Linked DNA regions of Homo sapiens: regions 1 and 2 are each linked to region 3. The links are contacts of gene promoters, found by promoter capture Hi-C in blood cells and fetal thymus (Javierre and others, 2016). All regions are on one chromosome and are shown on one strand. Each heading gives the region's core, a stretch centred on a gene start or on the middle of the fragment in contact. The rest is flanking DNA. Distances are from core to core; before and after follow the strand shown.

The links. Contacts are between HindIII fragments. The CHiCAGO score rates a contact against its expected background, and 5 or more counts as called.
Region 1: a contact is called between a fragment that was not itself captured here and the fragment with the promoter of IL1B in region 3, in 1 of 17 cell types (M1 macrophages). The highest score is 5.8, in M1 macrophages.
Region 2: a fragment that was not itself captured here is called in contact with the fragment with the promoter of IL1B in region 3 in 1 of 17 cell types (M1 macrophages); the score reaches 5.1 in M1 macrophages.

Annotation. Positions count from the first base shown.
Region 1 is chr2:113,134,210-113,137,918 of GRCh38, reverse strand. No RefSeq gene overlaps it. Among named protein-coding and RNA genes, the nearest start is that of IL1RN, 8.5 kb to the right of the region's middle. RefSeq lists a silencer at 2,303-2,452. The HindIII fragment of the contact is 1,584 bases long and covers 934-2,517 here.
Region 2 is chr2:113,114,296-113,118,033 of GRCh38, reverse strand. It overlaps a transcript of IL1RN not described here. Among named protein-coding and RNA genes, the nearest start is that of IL1RN, 11 kb to the left of the region's middle. The HindIII fragment of the contact is 6,409 bases long and covers 1-3,738 here.
Region 3 is chr2:112,835,303-112,838,496 of GRCh38, reverse strand. IL1B (interleukin 1 beta) reads left to right here and starts at 1,718. Exons shown (of 7, transcript NM_000576.3): 1 at 1,718-1,789; 2 at 2,253-2,314; 3 at 2,880-2,931. The coding sequence starts at 2,268. The HindIII fragment of the contact is 1,771 bases long and covers 1,591-3,194 here.

The sequences.
Region 1 (3,709 bases), core at 476-2,975, 300 kb before region 3:
AGCCTGATGAAGACACATATCTAGTTCAATTCCCTCCTTTTATGAAAACTGAGGCCTAGGGAGGAGAGGTTGCTTGGCCAAGGGCCCCCCAGGGAGTCTGTAGGAAAACTCTGACTCACCAATGAAAGACCTGAATTCAGCCTTGAATTTTCAAACAGTTGTCCTTGATTCTGTAGTGTTGTAGTAGATCAGGCCCAGAAGTGACGGAAGAAGCCACAATCCTCTTGAGGCTTGCTTGTCTTCCCTCTCTGTGCTTTTCTCTCCCATCTCAGCCCCTCCACCTCCCAGTCACCTGTGCACCGCCTCCCAGTTGAACAAAAGCCTCACTTAAGCATGAACCCCAGGCCTGGCTTTCCTAATCCATGGCCCCTGCCTTGTGCTATATAAAGTGCTGGCCCCTTGATTATTAATTTCCTCACCGCAGGCTGAGACCAGACCTGGAATACCCCACCAAGCCAAACTCAAATGTTTGCACATCCACTTGCTTTAAACATAGCCCCAATAAGCCTATGGTAATCCATTTAGAACCTGCCTGCTCTGTATACTCCATGAAACTGTATCCAATATCTGCTGGCCAAGGATAAGCCCCAAGCCATAAAGGCCTCAAGCCACTGCAGCCCATAGGAGCTCTCTGACCCAGAGATTCCCTGCTGTGCTGCTGGGTGACTTCACCTGGCCATGTAAGCCCCCTTTCCAATTCTCTTCTTTCCTAGGAGTCCTCTTGCCCTCCTTCCCCTCTGAGTAGGACCCCATCTCCACACTATAGCCTCCTTGACCAATTCCTGCTATAAAGGACCTTCCCCAGTGTAAACCTGTTAAAGCATCAACCCGAAAGCCTATGTGTGCTACCGCCACCTCGTGGTCATATCTTTTTTCTTAACCTCCAAATATCTGAAAAATCCTTCACTCTGGGCCTTTTCCCTCTTCTAAGCTTCCTTCAAAATATTCCTGATCCAAGTCCCCAGTCTTCTCAAATTTGCTGACCTGTCGAATAAATTAATCCATATTGATATATCAGTGGCCAATTCATTTATTCACTGGCCAGATATTCACTTAGCACCCAGTATATCGCAAGCAATGGCCTTGGCACTTGAGATACACTGTAGAACAAAACAGACAAAAATATCTGCATGGGTTGAGCTGACATTCTAGCAGCACGATGATGATTTAAAGTTTTTCCTCTTAGGAATATTTTATGGAACACTTTAAACCAAAGTAAGGAAGTGTTTTGTTTTTTTGTTTGTTTGAGACAGGGTCTCACTATCACCCAGGCTGGGATGCAGTGGCATGATCTCAGCTCACCGCAACTGTCACCTTCCAGGTTTGAGTGATTCTCATGCCTCAGCCTCCCAAGTAGCTGGGATTACAGGCATGTACCACCATGCCTGGCTAATTTTTTGGCATTTTCAGTAGAGACAGGGTTTTGCCATGTTGGTCAGGCTGGTCTTGAACTCCTGGCCTCAAGTGCTCTGCCCACCTCAGCCTCCCAAAGTGCTGGGATTACAGGCGTGAACCACCATGCCCAGCTAAAGTGTTAAGAGGGGAGTTTTTGGTGTCATCAATGGGCTAGTGTGATAGAGAGTAAGGAGATGGGCTAGGTTTATAAGTAGGAGAATCCCTTTATGCTAGTGCGTATGCCAAAACTTATGCATTGTGCGATTTATGCTTTTTATTTTATCTTATTTCTTTCTTTATTTTGAGACAGAGTTTTGCTCTTGTTGCCCAGGTTGGAGTGCAATGGTGTGATCTCGGCTCACTGCAACCTCCACCTCCCAGGTTCAAGTGATTCTCCTGCCTCAGCCTCCTGAGTAGCTAGGATTACAGGTATGCGCCACCATGCCCAGCTAATTTTATATTTTTAATAGAGATGAGGTTTCACCATGTTGGTCAGGCTGATCTCGAACTCCTGACCTCATGTGATCCACCTGCCTCGGCCTCCCAAAGTGCTGAGATTACAAGCATGAACTACTGCACCCGGCTAATGCATTTTAAAACAGTGCTTCTCAAATTTAATGTGCATGGGAGATCTGGTTAAGATGATGACCCTAAGTCAGTAAGTCAAGCCTGAGATCTGAGAATCTGCATTTTAACTCCAGAAGTATGCTGATGTTGCTGATGCATGAACCACACTTGGAGCAATAAGGCTCTAAAGCAGATTCCTTTGAGCACTGACTCTTCTAGGACTAATAATAATAATAAGAATATGCCACTCACCACAGAAGGCTATTGCAAAGATTAAGTAACTTTGCAATAACTCAGCATTGCCTATTATTTGCATTTAGTGGTGGGAAAACCAAGGCTCTGAGGTGTTAACTAGCTTGCTTATGAGCACCCAGTGCAAGCAGGAGAGTCAGAGTGTGACTGCAGAGTCCCAGAGTTCACCCATGTGACTGTTTTGCTGCCTTGCCTGTTTCTAACCTGTAGCTTGCTGCTTGACCTAGTTTGCATGAAGAGTCTTAGCCTTGGGTTTTACCTTAGAGCCTCACAAATGTTAGCTGCTATTGTTGTCATTAAGCTTTGATGAGTTTTCTGCCTTGAACCTCCTCCTTTTACCAGGATTAAAAATATATCAACGACACATGCCCTGCCCTGCCAGCTACTTCCATTTTATATACAAGAAAGAGAAAACTCAGAGATGTTGGATGACCTCCTCAACGTCATAGGATCTTAGATCTAGAGAAGACCTTAAACATTTTCTCCAGTTTGTTGCCTTTTAGCCTATTTAGTTTAGTTTGCTTTTAGCAATGAAGTCTCCCTTTCAAACAAAGTCCCATGGGAGGTCCAAGTTGTAAAGAAGAGAAAAACAGAGGGCTCTGTTGGGAACAGGGTTCAAGGGATGAATCCTGGCCCATTTATCCTCCCCTCTGCAGGGTTTCCCATTTCCAGAGACCTTAGAGGGAAGGGTCCAAGGAGCTCTGTTTGGAAAATCCCCATCCAAATCAACATTCCCCTCAAACAAATGAGGAACAGTCCCCACAAAGGGAGGTGACTTGGCCAAAATCAGACAGCAAGTGCATGACCTCACTGGGGCCTGCCTCTTGGACTCCAGAGACCAAGCCCAGAATCTAACAGAAACAACCTGGGCAGGTGAAAGGACCACACTCCTCACTCTCCTGACTGTTTACTGAGGTGTGTTTGATAAGTGGTCACTCATGGTCTTGCACTCCCACCTATGGGGACAAATTCAATACTCCATTCACTAATCTCATAATTTCCCAGATGCTCCTTTCTTTACACCCTGGTTGTTGGGGGGCAAGTCTTTTTATTTTCTAGGTATTGTGAAATAAAATATACATACAGAAAACCGCCTAACTGCATCCATGCCAAGAAATAGAATGTTGTCTGGACCCTAAAATCCCCCAGGTGCTCCTGCCTGCCACTCTCTCTCGCAGGGGCCAAGTGTCACTGGGCCTTCAGACAGAGCATGGCCTTGCTTCTCTCTGCACCACCTGTTTCCACAGCCCTCCACACAACAGCCCCATGTTGCCCGTTTTGAACTTTGTAGAAATGGAATCACACTCTATGCATGCTTTTGTGATTCTTGTACCCACATGATGTTTGTAAGATTATCTGTCTTGTGAGGTGCAGCTGGCTGTAATTCATTCATTTTCTTTGCCAAGGAGCACTGTGTTGTGTGCAGATACATGATGTACTAATTCATTCTGTGATGGGTGCTTGGGTTGTTTCCAGCAGAGGCTGTTGTGGACAG
Region 2 (3,738 bases), core at 208-2,707, 280 kb before region 3:
CTTACCTAAAGCCATGGGGAGGGCCTCATAGGACAGGAGGTCTTCTGAGGTCTTCCAGACTCTAACTCAACTGAGCTGCTGCCCATAAAGTAGCACCCGGGCAGTACCTGGGCCACAGTCCCTCCCAGGGTGGAGCTGCCCCTCCTTCCAGAGCACCTCAGAGAGTACAAGGAGGAGCCCAGCCTCCCCTCCCACACACTCACAGAGGGTTGGCCAGCATGAGGAGATGGGCCGGCTGATGGCTGACTTGATGCCAAGCAGGCCCAGTTTCCAGGAGGGTGACTCAGGCTAGCAGAAACCAAACTGGTTCTTATCTGCGTAAGATGGGAGGTCACATGCAGAGAACTGAGCTGGGCCTTCGTGCTTACCCCAACCCCGACTGCCGCCAGCTCATGCATGTGTGCACACATTCATTCAAAACATATGTGTTGGCTTAATCCTGTGTGCCAGGCACTCTTCCAGGCATTGGGAACAAGCCAGACAAGGTCCCCAACGCTCTAACAAAGGAAAACAGACAAGAAACAAGTTAGCAAATAAAATAACTTCATAGGGCATATTGCTATAGGGAAAATCCAAAGCAGGATATGCTTTTGAGGGACCTAGGAGTGGGTGGCTATTTTAGGGAAAGTGGCCAGGGAAGCCCTCTCTGAGAGGGTGACATAAGAGTGGAGACCTGAGCAATGTCAAGGAAGGGGAAGAATATTCCAGGTGGAGGGAACAGCAAGGGCAAAGGCCTTGTTTGAGCACTACGTGGAAGCCATGTCTTAGGGAATAACAGGGTCCATCCCGCTTCCAGTTACCCCCATGCCCTATACCTGGCCTCTGCCGTGACATTGTCCACAAGGCCAGATACTCTCTCCCTGCTTTCTCTAGAAGCACCTGATGTTCTGAACACCCCTCCTCCTTTTTGCCGTTGGGAGCGAACCTGCTTGTAGCTTCATGTCTCTGCATTCTGCCATCAGGGAGCAGACAACTCACAAATGCTTAAAGCCATCCAAGTTGATGGGGAGCAGTGGCAAGAGACCCCTGGGCAGGACGAAGTCCCGGGTCTAGTCCCCAGGTCTGCAGCCAACCAGTTGTGTGTGTGTGGGCACACCACTTCTGCCCTTCAGACCTCATTTTGACAGCTGCAAAATGGACCTGATGCTATCTGCCCTATCTTAGACTTAGGGCTCACCGGAAGCATGAATGACACGCAGTACATAAAATGCTCTGTAAATCACATGCATTTACACAGGCCCTTGCTGCAGGTAATGCCTTCATACACATATGAAATAGAGAGGAAGGAGCAGACCAGCCTACTGGCTGCCACCAATCTTGCCACCTACAATCTGTCCCTCCTGACAGGGAAGAACCCTCTCATTTGCAGAAGGGCTCATAATTCATAAACTTCTCAACAGGGATCTGGTAAGGGCCTTCAATTTCCTCTAACCCTGCAGACCTGGACTCATTCCCAGGGTCTCTTCATTCAACTCACAGGGCCTGAATGGGGGTGGGAGGGGCAGGGAGCCGGCCACAGGAAAGCCCCCCACCCCCCGCCCCGCCTGGGTGCTCCCGACCGCAGGGACTTCCCATGGGGCCTTCACTTCCTGTTCTCTTCCGCCTTGGCTCACCAAGATGTAATGCCAAGGTGTGTAAGGTTTGGCTGGAAATTTTCGAAGCAGCTTTTGTAGAGAAATTCCTGCTGACTAAAGAATCAGAAACTAGATTTGTAAACCTGGAAACTTCGTAAATGTCAACTTTGTAAACCTAGAAAGTTGGGCATTGGGGCAGCCTGGGAACCTGCCAGGATAGCCTGATGTGTCATCATGGTGTTGTACTTTTCTGTTATGACAACAGGAGGAGGACACATTAAGGTGGGCTCTGGTGGCCAGAGGTTCAAATCCCAGCACCATGAACTATAGCTGTGGGATCCTGGGCCACATCTATAAAATGAGAGTAAGATAAGACTCTTGCCCACCTCACAAGGTGCTTGTGAAGACTGGGCTAACAACTGTAAAGTGCTTGGCATGTGGTTGGCATTATTTAAGTATTAGCCATTACTATCAGAGGAAATAGATTGGATTTCTTCCCTGGGGAGCTAGGGGCCTAGCTGGTCATGAGAGAGAAAACTAGGCTTCCAGTCAGGGCCAGGGGACTACAAGTCAATCAGCACACAAGGCTGGGCATTCCCAGGTGGTCCCAACACTGGGGACATCGAGGGTAAAGGGACAACTTACGGGCATCTGTAGCACCCCAGTGTCTAGTCAGAACTCTCCTTTGCAAGCCTGTCTCCCTCTCCTCTCAGGCTATGAAGTTCTGATGGATCAGTGGCTTAGCCTAGGGTACTCAGTGCATCTGAGAAGCCTGGAGCCCAACATCCCAGAGATGGAGAACGCTGGGAGTAGTGGGAGAGCTGGCATTTGGGAACCGTGGAATTCTGAGTGACTGGAGACTCTTGATCATGGTGAAGGGGCTTCTGAAGAACCCTGAGGATCCACAACCCCAATGATGGTGACTGGCCACTTGCTCTGGCACTAACCTGCCAGCCTGTGGCATAGGAAAGAAGGAGGTAGGGGAAGGGTAGAAGGAAAGGGAGGCATCAGGAATGGAGGAGCAAGATATTGAGGTTTAATGTTATTAGAACCCCTCCCTTGAATTGAGACAGTCACAGGTGAAGCCCTCTAGCAGGAGAGACCCCAAGGCTCCCAAAGGAATTCCTACTATGGGAATGGAAATCTAGACCACACACAAGCAGGGGGGCCCTGGATGCCGTGAGAAGACTGAGAGCTTGGGTGAATCCCTTCATTCCAGCCAGGGGAGAGGTGCATCCTGCTTCCTTCTAGCTTAGACACACAAGGTCAGAGCAAGGGATTTGAGGTTTGAAAATACATGGGATCAGTTTTACAATTCTGATGACTGTAAATCCTTGAGTTGTTTGCCAACTTGTTTATCTACGACCGTAGTTGTTTACGGTCATAGACAAGCCCTTAAGTTTTTGCAGAGTTCCTAAGAATCTGCTCAGCCTGCTCAGCTTCCAGACTCAGCTTGTGAAACAGCCCCTCTTGTTCCCTGAACTCCTTTTGGTTCCTCAAATTCACCTCTTTCTCTCACCTCAGGACCTTGACACAGGCATGGAACACCCTTCCCTCCCCTGCTCCACTGACTAGTTACTTATCCTCACCCTTAAGACCTCAGCTCAGACTCTGCATTTATGTGATCCTCCGTGTAATATCTGTCTCCCAGGGCAGGTCACAGCAAGCACCGTGTCTATTTTGTTTACTCTTATATCTCCAGCTCATAGCCCAGGATTTGGCCCATAGAAAAATAAATGGGAAACCACCACTCATATTCTCATTCTCTCTCTCTCTCTCACACACACACACAAACACAGACACACACACACTCACACACGGACTCATACATCACCATAAATAAATGAGACACCTGATCATAACTTTGTAAGTGGTCACACATTGAAACTTCCAAGTCACATCAAATGTGGTCAAGATATATAGACTCTTCTTAACCTGTAATCCATTTTTCTGGGAGCTACCTCCATCGCCACCACCACAACTCACAGACCCAGCTGATTACACATGTACCTGACCTTGTCCCCAGGCCATGGCTCACTGGACTTAACGGTGGGCAGCTGCCTCAAACTAAGCCAGTACCAGGAATAAGAAACTGGGACTAGAGTTCACAGGGGCGAGGCATTTGGTAACTGCTCTCAAACTGAGGACTCCTGAATCCATAAGC
Region 3 (3,194 bases), core at 469-2,968:
GAATGGATTATGGCTTATCAAATTCACAGGAAACTAACATGTTGAACAGCTTTTAGATTTCCTGTGGAAAATATAACTTACTAAAGATGGAGTTCTTGTGACTGACTCCTGATATCAAGATACTGGGAGCCAAATTAAAAATCAGAAGGCTGCTTGGAGAGCAAGTCCATGAAATGCTCTTTTTCCCACAGTAGAACCTATTTCCCTCGTGTCTCAAATACTTGCACAGAGGCTCACTCCCTTGGATAATGCAGAGCGAGCACGATACCTGGCACATACTAATTTGAATAAAAATGCTGTCAAATTCCCATTCACCCATTCAAGCAGCAAACTCTACCACCTGAATGTACATGCCAGGCACTGTGCTAGACTTGGCTCAAAAAGATTTCAGTTTCCTGGAGGAACCAGGAGGAGCAAGGTTTCAACTCAGTGCTATAAGAAGTGTTACAGGCTGGACACGGTGGCTCACGCCTGTAATCCCAACACTTTGGGAGGCCGAGGCGGGCAGATCACAAGGTCAGGAGATCGAGACCATCCTGGCTAACATGGTGAAACCCTGTCTCTACTAAAAATACAAAAAATTAGCCGGGCGTGGCGGCAGGTGCCTGTAGTCCCAGCTGCTGGGGAGGCTGAGGCAGGAGAATGGTGTGAACCCGGGAGGCGGAACTTGCAGGGGGCCGAGATCGTGCCACTGCACTCCAGCCTGGGCGACAGAGTGAGACTCTGTCTCAAAAAAAAAAAAAAAGTGTTATGATGCAGACCTGTCAAAGAGGCAAAGGAGGGTGTTCCTACACTCCAGGCACTGTTCATAACCTGGACTCTCATTCATTCTACAAATGGAGGGCTCCCCTGGGCAGTACCCTGGAGCAGGCACTTTGCTGGTGTCTCGGTTAAAGAGAAACTGATAACTCTTGGTTGGTATTACCAAGAGATAGAGTCTCAGATGGATATTCTTACAGAAACAATATTCCACTTTTCAGAGTTCACCAAAAAATCATTTTAGGCAGAGCTCATCTGGCATTGATCTGGTTCATCCATGAGATTGGCTAGGGTAACAGCACCTGGTCTTGCAGGGTTGTGTGAGCTTATCTCCAGGGTTGCCCCAACTCCGTCAGGAGCCTGAACCCTGCATACCGTATGTTCTCTGCCCCAGCCAAGAAAGGTCAATTTTCTCCTCAGAGGCTCCTGCAATTGACAGAGAGCTCCTGAGGCAGAGAACAGCACCCAAGGTAGAGACCCACACCCTCAATACAGACAGGGAGGGCTATTGGCCCTTCATTGTACCCATTTATCCATCTGTAAGTGGGAAGATTCCTAAACTTAAGTACAAAGAAGTGAATGAAGAAAAGTATGTGCATGTATAAATCTGTGTGTCTTCCACTTTGTCCCACATATACTAAATTTAAACATTCTTCTAACGTGGGAAAATCCAGTATTTTAATGTGGACATCAACTGCACAACGATTGTCAGGAAAACAATGCATATTTGCATGGTGATACATTTGCAAAATGTGTCATAGTTTGCTACTCCTTGCCCTTCCATGAACCAGAGAATTATCTCAGTTTATTAGTCCCCTCCCCTAAGAAGCTTCCACCAATACTCTTTTCCCCTTTCCTTTAACTTGATTGTGAAATCAGGTATTCAACAGAGAAATTTCTCAGCCTCCTACTTCTGCTTTTGAAAGCCATAAAAACAGCGAGGGAGAAACTGGCAGATACCAAACCTCTTCGAGGCACAAGGCACAACAGGCTGCTCTGGGATTCTCTTCAGCCAATCTTCATTGCTCAAGTATGACTTTAATCTTCCTTACAACTAGGTGCTAAGGGAGTCTCTCTGTCTCTCTGCCTCTTTGTGTGTATGCATATTCTCTCTCTCTCTCTCTTTCTTTCTCTGTCTCTCCCTCTCCTTCCCTCTCTGCCTCCCTCTCTCAGCTTTTTGCAAAAATGCCAGGTGTAATATAATGCTTATGACTCGGGAAATATTCTGGGAATGGATACTGCTTATCTAACAGCTGACACCCTAAAGGTTAGTGTCAAAGCCTCTGCTCCAGCTCTCCTAGCCAATACATTGCTAGTTGGGGTTTGGTTTAGCAAATGCTTTTCTCTAGACCCAAAGGACTTCTCTTTCACACATTCATTCATTTACTCAGAGATCATTTCTTTGCATGACTGCCATGCACTGGATGCTGAGAGAAATCACACATGAACGTAGCCGTCATGGGGAAGTCACTCATTTTCTCCTTTTTACACAGGTGTCTGAAGCAGCCATGGCAGAAGTACCTGAGCTCGCCAGTGAAATGATGGCTTATTACAGGTCAGTGGAGACGCTGAGACCAGTAACATGAGCAGGTCTCCTCTTTCAAGAGTAGAGTGTTATCTGTGCTTGGAGACCAGATTTTTCCCCTAAATTGCCTCTTTCAGTGGCAAACAGGGTGCCAAGTAAATCTGATTTAAAGACTACTTTCCCATTACAAGTCCCTCCAGCCTTGGGACCTGGAGGCTATCCAGATGTGTTGTTGCAAGGGCTTCCTGCAGAGGCAAATGGGGAGAAAAGACTCCAAGCCCACAATACAAGGAATCCCTTTGCAAAGTGTGGCTTGGAGGGAGAGGGAGAGCTCAGATTTTAGCTGACTCTGCTGGGCTAGAGGTTAGGCCTCAAGATCCAACAGGGAGCACCCAGGGTGCCCACCTGCCAGGCCTAGAATCTGCCTTCTGGACTGTTCTGCGCATATCACTGTGAAACTTGCCAGGTGTTTCAGGCAGCTTTGAGAGGCAGGCTGTTTGCAGTTTCTTATGAACAGTCAAGTCTTGTACACAGGGAAGGAAAAATAAACCTGTTTAGAAGACATAATTGAGACATGTCCCTGTTTTTATTACAGTGGCAATGAGGATGACTTGTTCTTTGAAGCTGATGGCCCTAAACAGATGAAGGTAAGACTATGGGTTTAACTCCCAACCCAAGGAAGGGCTCTAACACAGGGAAAGCTCAAAGAAGGGAGTTCTGGGCCACTTTGATGCCATGGTATTTTGTTTTAGAAAGACTTTAACCTCTTCCAGTGAGACACAGGCTGCACCACTTGCTGACCTGGCCACTTGGTCATCATATCACCACAGTCACTCACTAACGTTGGTGGTGGTGGCCACACTTGGTGGTGACAGGGGAGGAGTAGTGATAATGTTTCCCATTTCATAGT